Linked DNA regions of Homo sapiens: region 1 is linked to region 2. Evidence: promoter capture Hi-C in 16 types of primary human blood cells and fetal thymus (Javierre and others, 2016). All regions are on one chromosome and are shown on one strand. The core of a region is centred on a gene start or on the middle of the fragment in contact, and the rest is flanking DNA. Distances in the headings are between cores, read along the strand shown.

What was found. The method cuts DNA at HindIII sites, captures the fragments that hold promoters and counts their contacts. A CHiCAGO score of 5 or more calls a contact.
Region 1: a fragment that was not itself captured here is called in contact with the fragment with the promoter of CEACAM4 in region 2 in 1 of 17 cell types (naive B cells); the score reaches 5.7 in naive B cells.

What each region holds. Positions count from the first base shown.
Region 1 is chr19:41,077,911-41,084,766 of GRCh38, reverse strand. No RefSeq gene overlaps it. Among named protein-coding and RNA genes, the nearest start is that of CYP2A13, 7.1 kb to the left of the region's middle. The HindIII fragment of the contact is 672 bases long and covers 3,936-4,607 here.
Region 2 is chr19:41,625,824-41,632,199 of GRCh38, reverse strand. It overlaps CEACAM4 (CEA cell adhesion molecule 4), which reads left to right and starts at 5,126. Exons shown (of 7, transcript NM_001817.4): 1 at 5,126-5,300; 2 at 6,240-6,376. The coding sequence starts at 5,237. The HindIII fragment of the contact is 7,709 bases long and covers 1-6,376 here.

The sequences.
Region 1 (6,856 bases), core at 3,022-5,521, 550 kb after region 2:
GTATGCATTCACAATTGGGTGACTACATATAAGTATGTGGATGTTCTCATGTGTGCATTCTGGTGTCTGTATGCAGGCTTGTGGGCCATGTTGCATACATGTCAACATCTGATATTTTCCTGTGCTCATCTGTGTTTGGATTAAAACAGTCCTAGCCCAGCTCCATTTATCCGCTTGAAGAAAACCCCAGAACTGTGGGAAGCTTTTTATGAGCATAATCTTAGTTAAACTCCTCATTGCAAGACTGTGAGGTTGGCTTTATCATCTCCATTTTGCAAATGAGTTAGGTAAGGCCCCCAAAGTTGGTTGTAAGTGACTTGCTTCCGCATTCCACAGCTAATGAGGGTAGAGTCTTAGTATGGTCTTGTGTGACTGTAAATTTCTTTCTTTCTTTCTTTCTTTCTTTCTTTCTTTCTTTCTTTCTTTCTTTCTTTTCTTTCTTTCTTTTCTTTTTGAGATGGAGCTTTGCTCTTTCGCTCTCGTTGCCCAGGCTGGAGTGCAATGGTGCGGTCTCGGCTCACTGCAATCTCTGTGTCCTGGGTTCAAGTGATTCTCCAGCCTCAGCCTCCCAAGTAGCTGGGATTCCAGCCACCACGCCCAGCTAATTTTTGTATTTTTAGTAGAGATGGGGTTTCACCATGTTTGTCAGGCTGGTCTCAAACTCCTGACCTCAGGTGATCCACCCACTTCGGCCTCCCAAAGTGCTGGGATTACAGGTGTGAGCTACCATGCCTGGCTGTGAAAGTAAATTTCATGCTGTTAATCACCACTTTGGACTGCCAGGCCCCACCTGTTTTTCTTTATGAAATATTAGAAAAACTGCCTGTAATCTCTTCTTCAAATACTTCCTTGTAAACATGTAACAAAAGTTTTCAAAATGTTAGAAAAAAAGTCTTTTAATAGGAGGGAGACTTGACCTTCTATAGTGTTTGCACTCTTCGGAACCTTAACCAACGACCTAGTTGGCCAGTATACCCCTCAGGCCATTGTCAATGAAGCAGTGGGGGAGTTGGGGTATTAGTGGTTGTGGTCAGAGAGTGAAATGTCTGTGTTTCACATTTCAGAGTGATGACAAGGATTAGGGTGGGGCTATGGGAATGTTGGCTGAAATAGAGTAAAGGAGGTCAAAGAAGAGAAGAAAGTCAAGATTCTTTTTTTCTGAGTGTTTGGACAGCTCACATCCATGGCCATGAAGTTCCTGCCTACCAGGAAAATGGCAAGACTTAGAGCCCAGAGATGGGAAAGAAGTTGGATAGATGACAGGGATGAACAGCTTTTTTTGTTTGAGACGGAGTCTTGCTCTGTCGCCCAGGCTGGAGTGCAATGGCGCGATCTCGGTCCACTGCAACCTCTGCTTCCTGGCTTCAAGCAATTCTCCTGCCTCAGCCTCCTGAGCAGCTGGGATTACAGGCATCCACCATCATGCCCGACTAATTTTTGTACTTTTGAAGAGACGGTGTTTCACCATGTTGGCCAGGCTGCTCTTGAACTCCTGACATCAGGTGATCTGCCCGCCTCAGCCACCCAAAGTGTTGGGATTACAGGTTTGAGCCACCATTTCTGAACAACTTTAAAAAATTTTTATTTTTATTTTTATTTTTTAAGAGGACGAAGATGTCAGCTGCCAAGTGCACTGATGAAGAGTTTCTTCTGGTAATGGTTGAGTAGCTTCTTTTGGAGCAAGCATCCCGTGAATAAAAACTATTAACTCTGAAGAAAACATTTTTAACAACCCAATTCCCTGAAATCACTGGGGGGTGAAAAAAAGCAGCAGATTCTGAAGGGAGTTAGGAGAAAGGGGTTTCCTTTAGAAAAAAAAAAAGAAAAGAAAAGAAAAAAGAAAAAAAATAGCTTTTGGTCTTCCTTACCACAGGAAGAATGGGAGATGGGGTCACTGCAAATTTATTCTAGAATATTTTTCATCTTATTAAAATCCTTTAAAATGCAGACCACTTCTTGACAGGGAGGGCTAGGTAAACAACAATTCGTAAGGGAACTAATTTTTTTTTTTTTTTTAACATGCTGTGTCTCTTTAAATGTAGAAAGGTGATCAAGATGGCTGACCAGATGCAGGTAGCATGGCCTTCTTCGTGGAGAGGAACTCCATTTTAAACAGATTATCTAGGAGAGAATGCTGGAATTCATCAGAGAAGAGAAGGGATTCAACAGAGAAAAGAAGGGAAGCACAGGAAGTGAGTAAGGAGAGGGGATTGACTGAAAGCTGAGAGTGGCTCCTGGATGAGGGGAAATTATAAGAGAGAAACTCCCAGGGCTCCACACTTTGAAATGGGCTTTTATGATCTTGGCTATGGTAGAAACCCTCAACCCACTTGGGTCTTGGGCCTGACATACGGAGCTCCCTAAAGATTGTGCAGAGACATTGCCCTGGAAAATGGAACCCACATGGAATCCCATTTGAGCCTAGAGCAGCCTCAGCTGAGTGCTGTTTTGAGAACCTGGATACTGGAGATCTATAGAAATGGTTGCTGCTGCTGTGCTGCTTCAAGTAAGTATAGAGGAGACCCAGCACTCCCAGGCACCCATGGGAGGGTCCTTTCTGCCTTGCTGCGGGCTGCTGTTGAGACTGAGATGTGAGTGAACCACATTCCCCACAGCTTCTTACCCTGGTTGCAGGCCCAAGGAACCATTTTGAGAGTTTAATACTGTGCCATGCCCTGCCCTCAGGCCCAGTTTGAGTTGACCTGGCTGCAGCCACCACCTGGCCAAGGAGGGACAGGGAAACAAAGCTCCTTTACATATACCTGGGACAATTTCCCCGACCCTGCTATGGGCTGCTGTGACAGGGAGACTTGAGCAGACCCCACTCCCCACAACTTCTTGTCCATACTGCTTACCAGAGAGGGGCCTGTCCTCTTTGGTCACAAGCCCACAGCTGGCACAATCATAAGAGTTTAATGTTGGGCTCTGTCCCCCTTTTTGCCAAGTCTGAGGTGATGCCACTGTAGCCGCCACCCAGATGGGGGAGGCACAGGGGAGAACAAGCTCTCCTAAGCACACTTAGGTCAATACCACTACCCTGCTACAGGATGCTGTGGGACTGGGGAGTAGCCCACCCAACCCATTGCATCTACCAGCAACACCAACATGGACTGCCTGGGTCCTAGTGGATTGCTCCACCACCACTACTGCCATCACCCATATCACACCAGGTTGTGCTTCCCAGGGGCCTGAGAACTTGCCCACATCCCTGTCCCCCAACTCCCATGACTCCTCTAAGCAAGCCACTAGGAAGCTCAAGAATCAGCCTCCCAGGACTCACTAATACCAAAGCCAGTAGACTGCTCTGGGGCTCAGCCATACTCTCCAAGCTGCTGCCACCACCAGGGCCCAAAGATGGGCTCAGTTGGCATCCACCACCCAGCTAAATTTCTCCTCGATCTCAAGTAATAACTGTACTCTAAGCTACCAAGGAAATCAAAGATACCAGTGACCCTGGGTACTGCCTATGAAGTCATACTAAGATCACACTACCATAGGCACCCAGAATCAAAGCCAAAGTATCCTACTCAACTAACAACATGCATACATTTTTCAGGAAAAAAATTTTCTCCTACAGGGCAATTAAAAAAACTTGAACAAGCTACTGCTACACAAGATTTGCAGATATCAATGAAAGGACACAGGAAACATGAAAAAGGAGAAAAATGTGACATCATCAAAGGACCACAATTGTCCAGCAACAGATCCCAATCAAAAAGAATCCCTCAATATGCCAGATAAAGAATTCAAAATACTGATTTTATAAAGCCCTACAAGATGCAAGAGAAATTTGAAAATCAATACAAAGAATTAGAAAATCAGTCCAGGAAATGAATGAGAAATTTACCTAGATAAATAACTTAAAAAAAAAAACAAGCAGAAACTCTTGAACTAAAAAAATTCAATGAAGGGAATACAGAATATATTCAAAAGCTTCAATAGTAGACTGGACCAAGCAGAAGAAAGAACCTCAGAACATGGCTGGGTGCAGTGGCTCATGCCTGTAATCCCAGCACTTTGGAAGACCAAGGTAGGTGGATTCCTTGAGGTCAGAGTTCAAGGCCAGTTTGGGCAACATAGTGAAACCCTATCTCTAAAATTAGAAGAAAAAAAAAGAATCTAAGAACTTGAAGACAGGTCTTTTGAAATGTCCTGTCTGACAAAATAAAGAAAAATAAATAAAAAAGAATCATCAAAGACTTTGAGATATCTGGGACTACATAGTGTGACCAAACTTATGCATTTTTGGTATTTCCAAGGGGGAAGAGAGATTTTAAAAAATTAGAACACCTATTTTTAGGAAGTAATTGATGAAAACTTCCACATCTAGCAAGAGAGTTAGACATCCAGCTACAGAGCCCCAGCAAATACATTGCAAAAAGAACTTCACATAATAGTACATTTAGAAAGTCTAAAGTCAAGAAGAAAGAAAGAATTTTAAAATTAGCAAGAGAAAAGCATCTAGTTACCTATTAAGAAAACTCATCAGACTAACAGCAGACTTTTCAGTGGAAACCTTACAGGCTAGAAAAGAAGAGAATGGCATTTCCAACTGCTGAAAGAAAAGTACTGTCAGCCAAAAATTTTATGTTCTGGCAGAATAAGCTTCATAAATGAAGGAGAAATAAAATCTTTTCTAGAGAAGCAAATGGTGAGTAAACTTGTCAACACTAGCCTGTTCCTATGGGAGATGCTCAAATGGGTCTTAAATATGGAAATGAAAGGTCAACACTCAGCGTCATGAAAACACACAGAAAAATAAAACTCACATTTCTTATAAAAACAACCTCATACATGAGGAAGAGAAAAGAATCAAATGGCAACATGGGAGAATCTCATCAAACCACAATGACAAAAAGAGAAAAAGAAAGAAACAAATAATTTATCACATAAAACAACTTAAAAACAATTAACAATATGACAAGAATAAAGCCTTGCATATCAATATTAACCTTGAATAAATGGATTAAATGCTTCACTTACAAGATATGTATTGGCGGAATACTTTAAACAACATGATGCCCAGCACTTTGGGAGGCCAAGGTGAGTGGATCACCTGAGGTTGGGAGCTTGAGACCAGCCTGACCAACATGGAGAAACCCTGTCTCTACTAAAAATACAAAAATTAGCTGGGTGTGATGGCATATGCCTGTAATCCCAGCTACCTGGGAGGCTGAGGCAGGAGAATTGCTTGAACCCAGGAGGCAGAGGTTGCAGTGAGTCGAGATCATGCCATTGCACTACTCCAGCCTGGGCAACAAGAGCAAAACTCATCTCAAAACAAACAAACAAACACACACACACACACAAACCATGATGCAACTATATGCTGCCTATAAGAAACTCACTTTACCTGTAAAGACACATATAGACTGAAAGTACATAGATGGAAAAAGCTATTCCATGCAAACAAAAACCAAACAAGCAGGAATAGCTATATCTTATACCAGTTAAAACAGATTTTAAATAAAAAACATTAAAAATAAAAACAAAACAAAGAAGGTCATTATATAATGATAAAGGGATCAATTTAGCAAGAGAATATAACAGTGCTGAATATATACGCACCGAACATCACAACCCCTAAATTTACAAACAAATACAACTAGACCTAAAGAATGAGATATACAGAATACAATAACAGTGGGGAGCTTCAATATCCCACTCATACACTAAACAGATCATTGAGAGACAAAATTAGCAAAGAAACATTAGCCTTTCATATGCTTTGGATGTGTGTCCCCTCCATATCTTATGTGGACATGTGATCCCCTATGTTGGAGGTAGGGCCTAGAGGGAGGTATCAGATCATAGGGGCAGATCCCTCATGAATGGCTTAGTGCCATCCCCTTGGTGATGAGTGGGTTCTCACTCAGTTTAAATGAGATCTGGTTGTTTAAAAGAGCCTGGGACCACCCCCTTCCATCTCTTGCCAGTGTGATACACTGGCTCCTCCATTGCCTTCCACCATGATTGTAAGCTTCCTGAGACCCTTATCAGTAGCAGATGCCAGTGCCATGCTTCATGTTCTGCCTGCAGAACTGTGAGCTGATTAAACCACTTTTCTTTATAAATTACCGAGGCTTGGGTGTTCCTTTATAGTGATGCAAAAATGGACAAATACAGACTTAAATTGGACTTTAACCCAATGGACTCAACAGACACTTATAAAACATTTTACCCAACAACTACAGAATATACACTCTTTTCATCAGCACATGATATATTCTCCAAGATAGACCATATATTAAGCCATGAAACATACCTTAACAAATTTTCTAAAAATCAAAATTATATCAAGTATCATCTCAGACCACAGTGGATAAAGCTAGAAAAGGATTCCATTCCATCAATACTAGGAGGAACTTTGGAAATGGTATAAATACATGGGCATTAAACAGCATGCTCTTGAAAGATCACCAGGTCAGCAAAGAAATTAAGCTGGAAATTTAAAAAAAGTTTGAAATGAATAAAAATGAAAACACAACACAAAAGTCTGTGGGATACAGCAAAAGCAGTACTAATAGGGAAGTTTATAGCACTGAATGCCTACATCAAAAAAGTAGAAAGGGCCAGGCATGGTGGCTCACAGCTGTAATCCCAGCACTTGAGGCGGTGGATCACTTGAGGTCGGGAGTTCGAGACCAGTCTGGCCAGTATGAAGAAACCCTGTCTCTACTAAAAAATACAAAAATTAACAAGGCATGTTGGTGCATGCCTGTAATCTCAGCTACTCGGGAGGCTGAGGTGGGAGAATGACTTGAACCTGGGAGGCAGAGGTTGCAGTGAGCCGAGTTTGCGCCACTGCACTCCTGCCTGGGTGACAGAGTGAGACTCCATCTCAAAAAACAGTAGA
Region 2 (6,376 bases), core at 3,877-6,376:
ATTAGGCCGGACACGATGACTCACGCCTGTAATCCCAGCACTTTGGGAGGCCAAGGCTGGAGGATCACTTGAGCTGAGGAGTTCAAGAACAGCCTGGGCAACATGGTGAAACCCTGTCTTTACAAAAAAGTACAAAAATTAGCCAGGCATGGTGGTACATGCCTGTAGTCCCAGCTACTTGGGGGGCGGGGGCTGAGGCAGGAGGATCACTTGAGCCTGGGAGATTGAGGCTGCAGTGAGCCAAGATCATGCCACTGCACTCCAGCCTGGGAACAAGATGAGACCCTGTCTCAAAAAAAAAAAAAAAATTAAGATCACATTCAATGTGAAAACCACACATAGGCTATATGTTGTTTATGCCATATAATTTAAAAACACTACGGAGGAGTTTCCGCATCAGTGGCTAAAACAATTCCCTGTTGGTTACATATCTGCCTCATATTCCATTGTGTAAATGTATATAACCTGTTTAACTATGCTAATGTAAATGTAGGTTGTTTTCAGTATTTTGCTGTTAAGCCATCACTGCCATGAGAAACCGTGATTAGGTGTCATTTTTCATGAGTGTGTGATAAATTCCTTGCAGTGCAGTTTGGGAGGCAAAGAGAATGCATATGTTAAATTTTGATAAGTGTTGACAAATTTGATGCCACACAGTTGGTACAAATTTTCATGTCACCCAACAAAGTTAGGAAGTACAATTTTTACCAAAGTTCTTCCCACACGTTGTGTTATCAAATGGAATTTTTCAGCATTTAAAACCACTGGGCCATATTATGATCCTCACCTTTCCAGGATAATATCAATGTCCGTTTCTCCTGCATGTGTGCGGGTATTTTGTTCATATGTCTACGAATCATTCAAATTGTTTTTTCTTCTGTAAACTGTTTATATATTTGCCTACTTTTCTACTAGACTTCAGTCTTTTTAATTTTATTTATTCTTTAAGTATTAACAGATGTGAAAGTTGTCAGAGTCAAAATGAGTCACTAGTGTGAAAAAAAACTCTGACAAATAGAGCCAGAGAAGACCATGAAGAGAGGATCCTCATGCCTGATAACAAAACTATCACAAAAGACTCTGCAAAAGCCACAAGTTTATACAAAGGCCATCACAACCTTATATGAAAACTACTTCTGCAAGGACATCTGCCCAGCAACTGCCTATAGAACCTCACAGTGGCATCATTCTGGCTATTGATCTTTGTAGCTAGTTTTTTTTTTTTTTTTTCAAAATGACTAGATAATAATCCCAATTTTTTCCTTTAAAAACTCGAATATGTAGATCATTTTACTATGGCACATGCATTTCCATTGAAATGTGCTACTCCCAAATAAACATCAGTTTCTCATAGAAAGCCTCACTCTGTTTGTTACCATATATGGTGTCAGAAGTGGGATCTGGGAAAGATCACTATCAGAAGAAATCTGTGATCTTTGAACCAGTGTGCACTACTCACTTGAGAAGTTTGAGCTCTCTGCTTCCACACTCACCTTTCCTGCCCTGACAAGTCTTTGCTCAAGCAGAGCCTCTTTTTGGTAGAAGCTCTTGACTTTATTTGGAATCTGATTTGGATAAGGCTGCCTTAGTAAAAGACCATACATTTCTCCTGGGATGATAAAAAAAAAAAAAACTTTTTGTCTTTTCTAGCAAGTCCTTTCTGAGAGAAAGGCGTATATCTTTCTAGATCACGTACTCTGGATTCTACAAAATTTACATTCTGCCTGTGAGGCAAGTCTATTCTGGTGAATTTACTTCCATTTTGGCCTGTGTGCCTAATTTAAATACTTTAAAAATCTGCATGCCTGGGTTAAAATTCTTGTGAATGCTCTTATCTGGATTTCTTTTTATTTGGTTTGACTCTTTTCCCCTTGCTTGCTTCTGAAAATCATCCCAGAACACAAAAAAATAGACATTCTAAATGACGGGCACAAAATGGCTAATTAACAGCCACTAGCGTGGTTGCCACCATCTAAAACACTGGTACAAATGCCTGACATTCTCTGGCAGGATTTGTAAAATTTTCTTCACTTTCAAGAGATTAATAAGAAATGGAATGGGGCTCTCAAGCATTAAGGCATGCCAGGTTTTCTGGGGCTCCAGCTGGCTACATTTTATGGTTCTTTCTTGTGCACATTTTAAAGTTTATGAGCAAAATTACATCAAGGAAAATTCAGTACTCAATGATCATCATTCAACCTGTTTTAAAAAGCCCTGCATCTATAGGGTGGAAATGTAGAGTCTTCTAAATTCTCTATTTTTTTTTCTCTACCTACTTTGAATCTGCTGACTTTTCTACTGGTGTTGAGATAAAACTCACTGCTTATGGCATTCTAGCCCAGAGTTTTAAAAAAGAAATCTTGAAGGGCTTTAAAATTAATGGCTTTACAAATTAAACAACTCCATGATAAGAAACAACTTAGACACCTTTAGGAAATGTAAATTTAAGTTTGTCTAACTAATAATTGCTTATAATGGAGCACAATTAAAAATCAATAATTAAAAAAATACATGGTTATAAAAGTTAGGCTCTCAGATCATACAGGTCAAAATCTTGAACTCAGAGCAATAATTTAAGGTGTCTCTGTCCGACATAAACTTTTTTCTTCTTTTGCCATGCAGAGGCAAAAAAGAAAAAGCCAGGAAAAAAAGCTAAAATCCTTCCTCATCCACATTTGTTAATCAAGCAAACCACATCACCACCACCCGCCCCCCTCCAACCCACACAAAAAATCTAGTTTAAGGCTAGTTGGAGATTTTTTTTTCTTATACAATTCAGCCAGTTCTAGCTAAAGTGTAAGCAATTGAAAATTTAATCCTAAACTCATGTGAAACAGAAAAAAAAAAGATGCTGAAACTGTAGAGGTTTCATTTGTTTATTTGTTTATAAGTTACACTGCCATTAGAAACTGCTTTACCCAAAATATTTCCCCCAGCCTTCATTATATTACCTATAGGGGCAAATAAAGTTTATCCATGTTAACGATTCCAATTTGTCAGAAATACAATTGGATCCAGTTGACTTTAATCAACTAGTGAGTTTGTATTACTATCTCATCACTAAAATTCTAAAATGAAAGCTGTAAGATTTTTATTTGTTTGTGGATATGTGTTTAGGTGTGTTTTTGCATATGTACATGTATTATGGTCTATATTGTGTCTACATGACAAAATCCACCTTAGTTGGCCAGAAACGCCTTAATAAACTCTATTTGCATTTCCTTAGAGAAATGAGCATAAGAACATGGCTTTTACCCTAGTAGCATCGGGAGGGAATTCAGGGTCTTTCTAACAGTGAGGGGCAAACCCAATTCATTCCCTGACATCATTCACTGACATTCCCTCCAGGCTCTAACATATGTCTTTCTCACAAACACACCAAAACTGACACAAACTCCGGATATTCGATCCCAGGTGGATCTTCCACCAGGGCAGAATGACCACAAGAAAGTCAGGGAGTGATTCCCCAGCCTCGAGATCCCCAGTATTTGGGACATCTGCCTATGGTCCCTGCAGACATTTCACCAGGGGATCCAGGGGAACTTCTCCTGCAGGAGGGGACAGGATAACCCAGGATCTGCCTTTGTTTCCATCTCAGAGGGACTGAGGGTCACGGGGCCTCCCCTGCTCTAATACAGGAACCAGGTATCCCTTGCAGCCTGCAGGTAGGAGCTGCCCCAGCTCCTGGGCCCTGTGGAGAGGCCTGGGGCAGGTGACAGACAGGGACACAGATGACCTGGAGGCGGAACTCCCAGTGTTGTGATGGAGGAACACAGAACACACCGAGGACCACCTCCCAGGCCAGTGCCCTCTCTCTAAACCCCCAGAGACACCTCCCTGGGCCCTTCTTTTGAAACCTTGGGGACGGATGGCTCTTTCTGAGGCAGCCCATCCGCCTGCAGGACAGTTCTCCCAAATCAGGACCAGGAGTGCTCTGGACAACTCTCGTCCTCTCCCTGAGCTCATCCTGCACTGCATGGAGTTGGACATCCTGGGGACCCACAGTGAACAGGACCAAGGATGACCTGACCCTGCAGTCTGGAGGTCAGAGCCCACCTCTGCCCAGGGGCCAGGGCCAACTCATACCACGTGGACCCTGGTCAGCATCCCTGGGGAAGCCCCTGACTTTTACCACAGGGTTCCTCTTGCTCTCCAGGGGCAACATTGCACGCAGACAACACAGGAAATGGATTCCCCTGGACAGGAATCTGGCTTTGCTAAGGAGGTGGAGGTGAAGCCTGGTTTCCATACTTTGCTCCAGCAGGCCCTTCCAGTCCCTCCCATGTGCCTGCTCTGTCTCTCCTGATCCTTCCTGGAGCCTCTGAGGATCCTGCTCTGCCAGGATTCTCTGCTCAGTTCTCCACTTTCTCCTGGTATCATGCATGGGGAAGGTACAGTGACAACAGGACAATCACCTTCACAGAGGACAGAGGCCACCCGGGATGGTAAGGGAGAACATGCACAGGCCCTAAGCCACAGCTCAGCCAACAGAAACGGAGAGGGAGGATCTCCCTGAATCCCTCCTCAAGGACAGCAGAACCCAGAGCCACCCACCTCCCTCCACCACAGTCCTCTCTTCCCAGGACATGCAGGACACCTCCCTCCACATCCAGGAGCTGGGGATCCTCCTGAGACCCCCAGGCCTGGATCTCTGTCCCTGGGTCAGAGGCAAGGCTGGTGACACTGGAGAGAGAGGACTGGTCCCCCCCGTAGTCGCCCCCCATTTTCTATCCCACAGAGCCACCTCTGTCACCTTCCTGCTGGGTATCATCTCACACTCCCTGAGTATTGGGGAGCATGAGGAGACCTGGGGGCCCAGCTGGGTCTCTGTGTCACAAAAGGAAACAGTTCCCCAAGTTTGGGAGACCCCAGAGTACCTCTGTTTGTGGTGACATTCCCAAAGGGTCAGTGCAGGGGTGACAAGTCACCCTCTCTGGGGACAGGGGACTCCACCAACCCTGCTTCTCAAAGTGTGGTTAGGAAACTGTAATGTACACAGAAGAGAAAGGGGAAGGAGGGACAAAAAAGGCAGAAATGAGAGGGGAGGGGCAGAGGGGTGACCTGGGAAGAGCCCCGCCTCTGCCCCTGGCCCTGGGAAGTGCTTCTGCCCGGGAGGAGGCTCAGCACAGAAGGAGGAAGGTCAGCAGCCCCGACAGCCGACAGTCACAGCAGCTCTGACAAGAGCGTTCCTGGAGCCCAGCTCCTCTCCACAGAGGACAAGCAGGCAGCAGAGACCATGGGCCCCCCCTCAGCCGCTCCCCGTGGAGGGCACAGGCCCTGGCAGGGGCTCCTGATCACAGGTGAGGGGAGGACTCTCTGGGAGTGGTGGGAAGAGGGAGCACAGAGACTGACTGGGGTCTCTTGGGTAGGAGGGGATAGAGGGCTTCTGGCTGGGGTCTCCTGGGGCTCTGAGAGGGGACTGAGGGCCTCTGTTGGAGGCTGGATAAGGGAGAGAACATCAGAGAGGGGCAGGGGTCACAACAGGAAAATCTCAGTGAACTGGAATTGGTAAAAGGCAGGAAAATCTCAAGTGTTCTCTCGTCCTGGTTAATCATCACTGGCCACTACATTTTGAAAAATGATAATAACTATACCAGATGACACTTCAAATAAAAACATAACCAGGGCATAAAACACTGCTCTTAGCCAACAACCTCAGACACTGGGAAATAAACCTCAGGACTTGGAGGCCCTGAGAATGCTCATGAACTCATCTACAGGAGTCTGCAGCCTGTGCCAGGCACTGGGGTGCAACCAAGATCACACAAGTCCCCGCCCTCACAGAGCTCACGCTCTCATGGGGAGGAAGACAAACACCTAAAGAGATCTAGAATGTGAGGTCAGGTGCTGACAAGAGCCCTGGAGGGAACAGAGCTGGGAAAGGTCAGAAAGGGAAGACCCAGGGTCTCTAGAGGAGGTGTCAGGGGAGGGGTCTCCCAAAAACACCCTGATGTGAGCAGGATCTGAGGGCAGTGGGGAGGGAGCCGTGCAGACCCCTGGGGAAGAAGATTCCACCAGGGAAATGCCAAGGTCCAAGCTGTTGAAGGAATGGGGGTCATGCTGCTGACCCAGGGACACACACACACACACACACACACACACACACACACACACACACACACACACACACACACACTCCAAGGCTGAGGGATGAGGAGACCTGCTGAGGACCCAGGGCCTTATCTTTCCATCCCACTCCATAGGTCCCAGTATTGACTGATGCTGTCTTCACCTCCTAGCCTCACTTTTAACCTTCTGGCACCCGCCCACCACTGTCCAGTTCACTATTGAAGCCCTGCCGTCCAGTGCTGCAGAGGGAAAGGATGTTCTTCTACTGGCCTGCAATATTTCAGAAACTATTCAAGCCTATTATTGG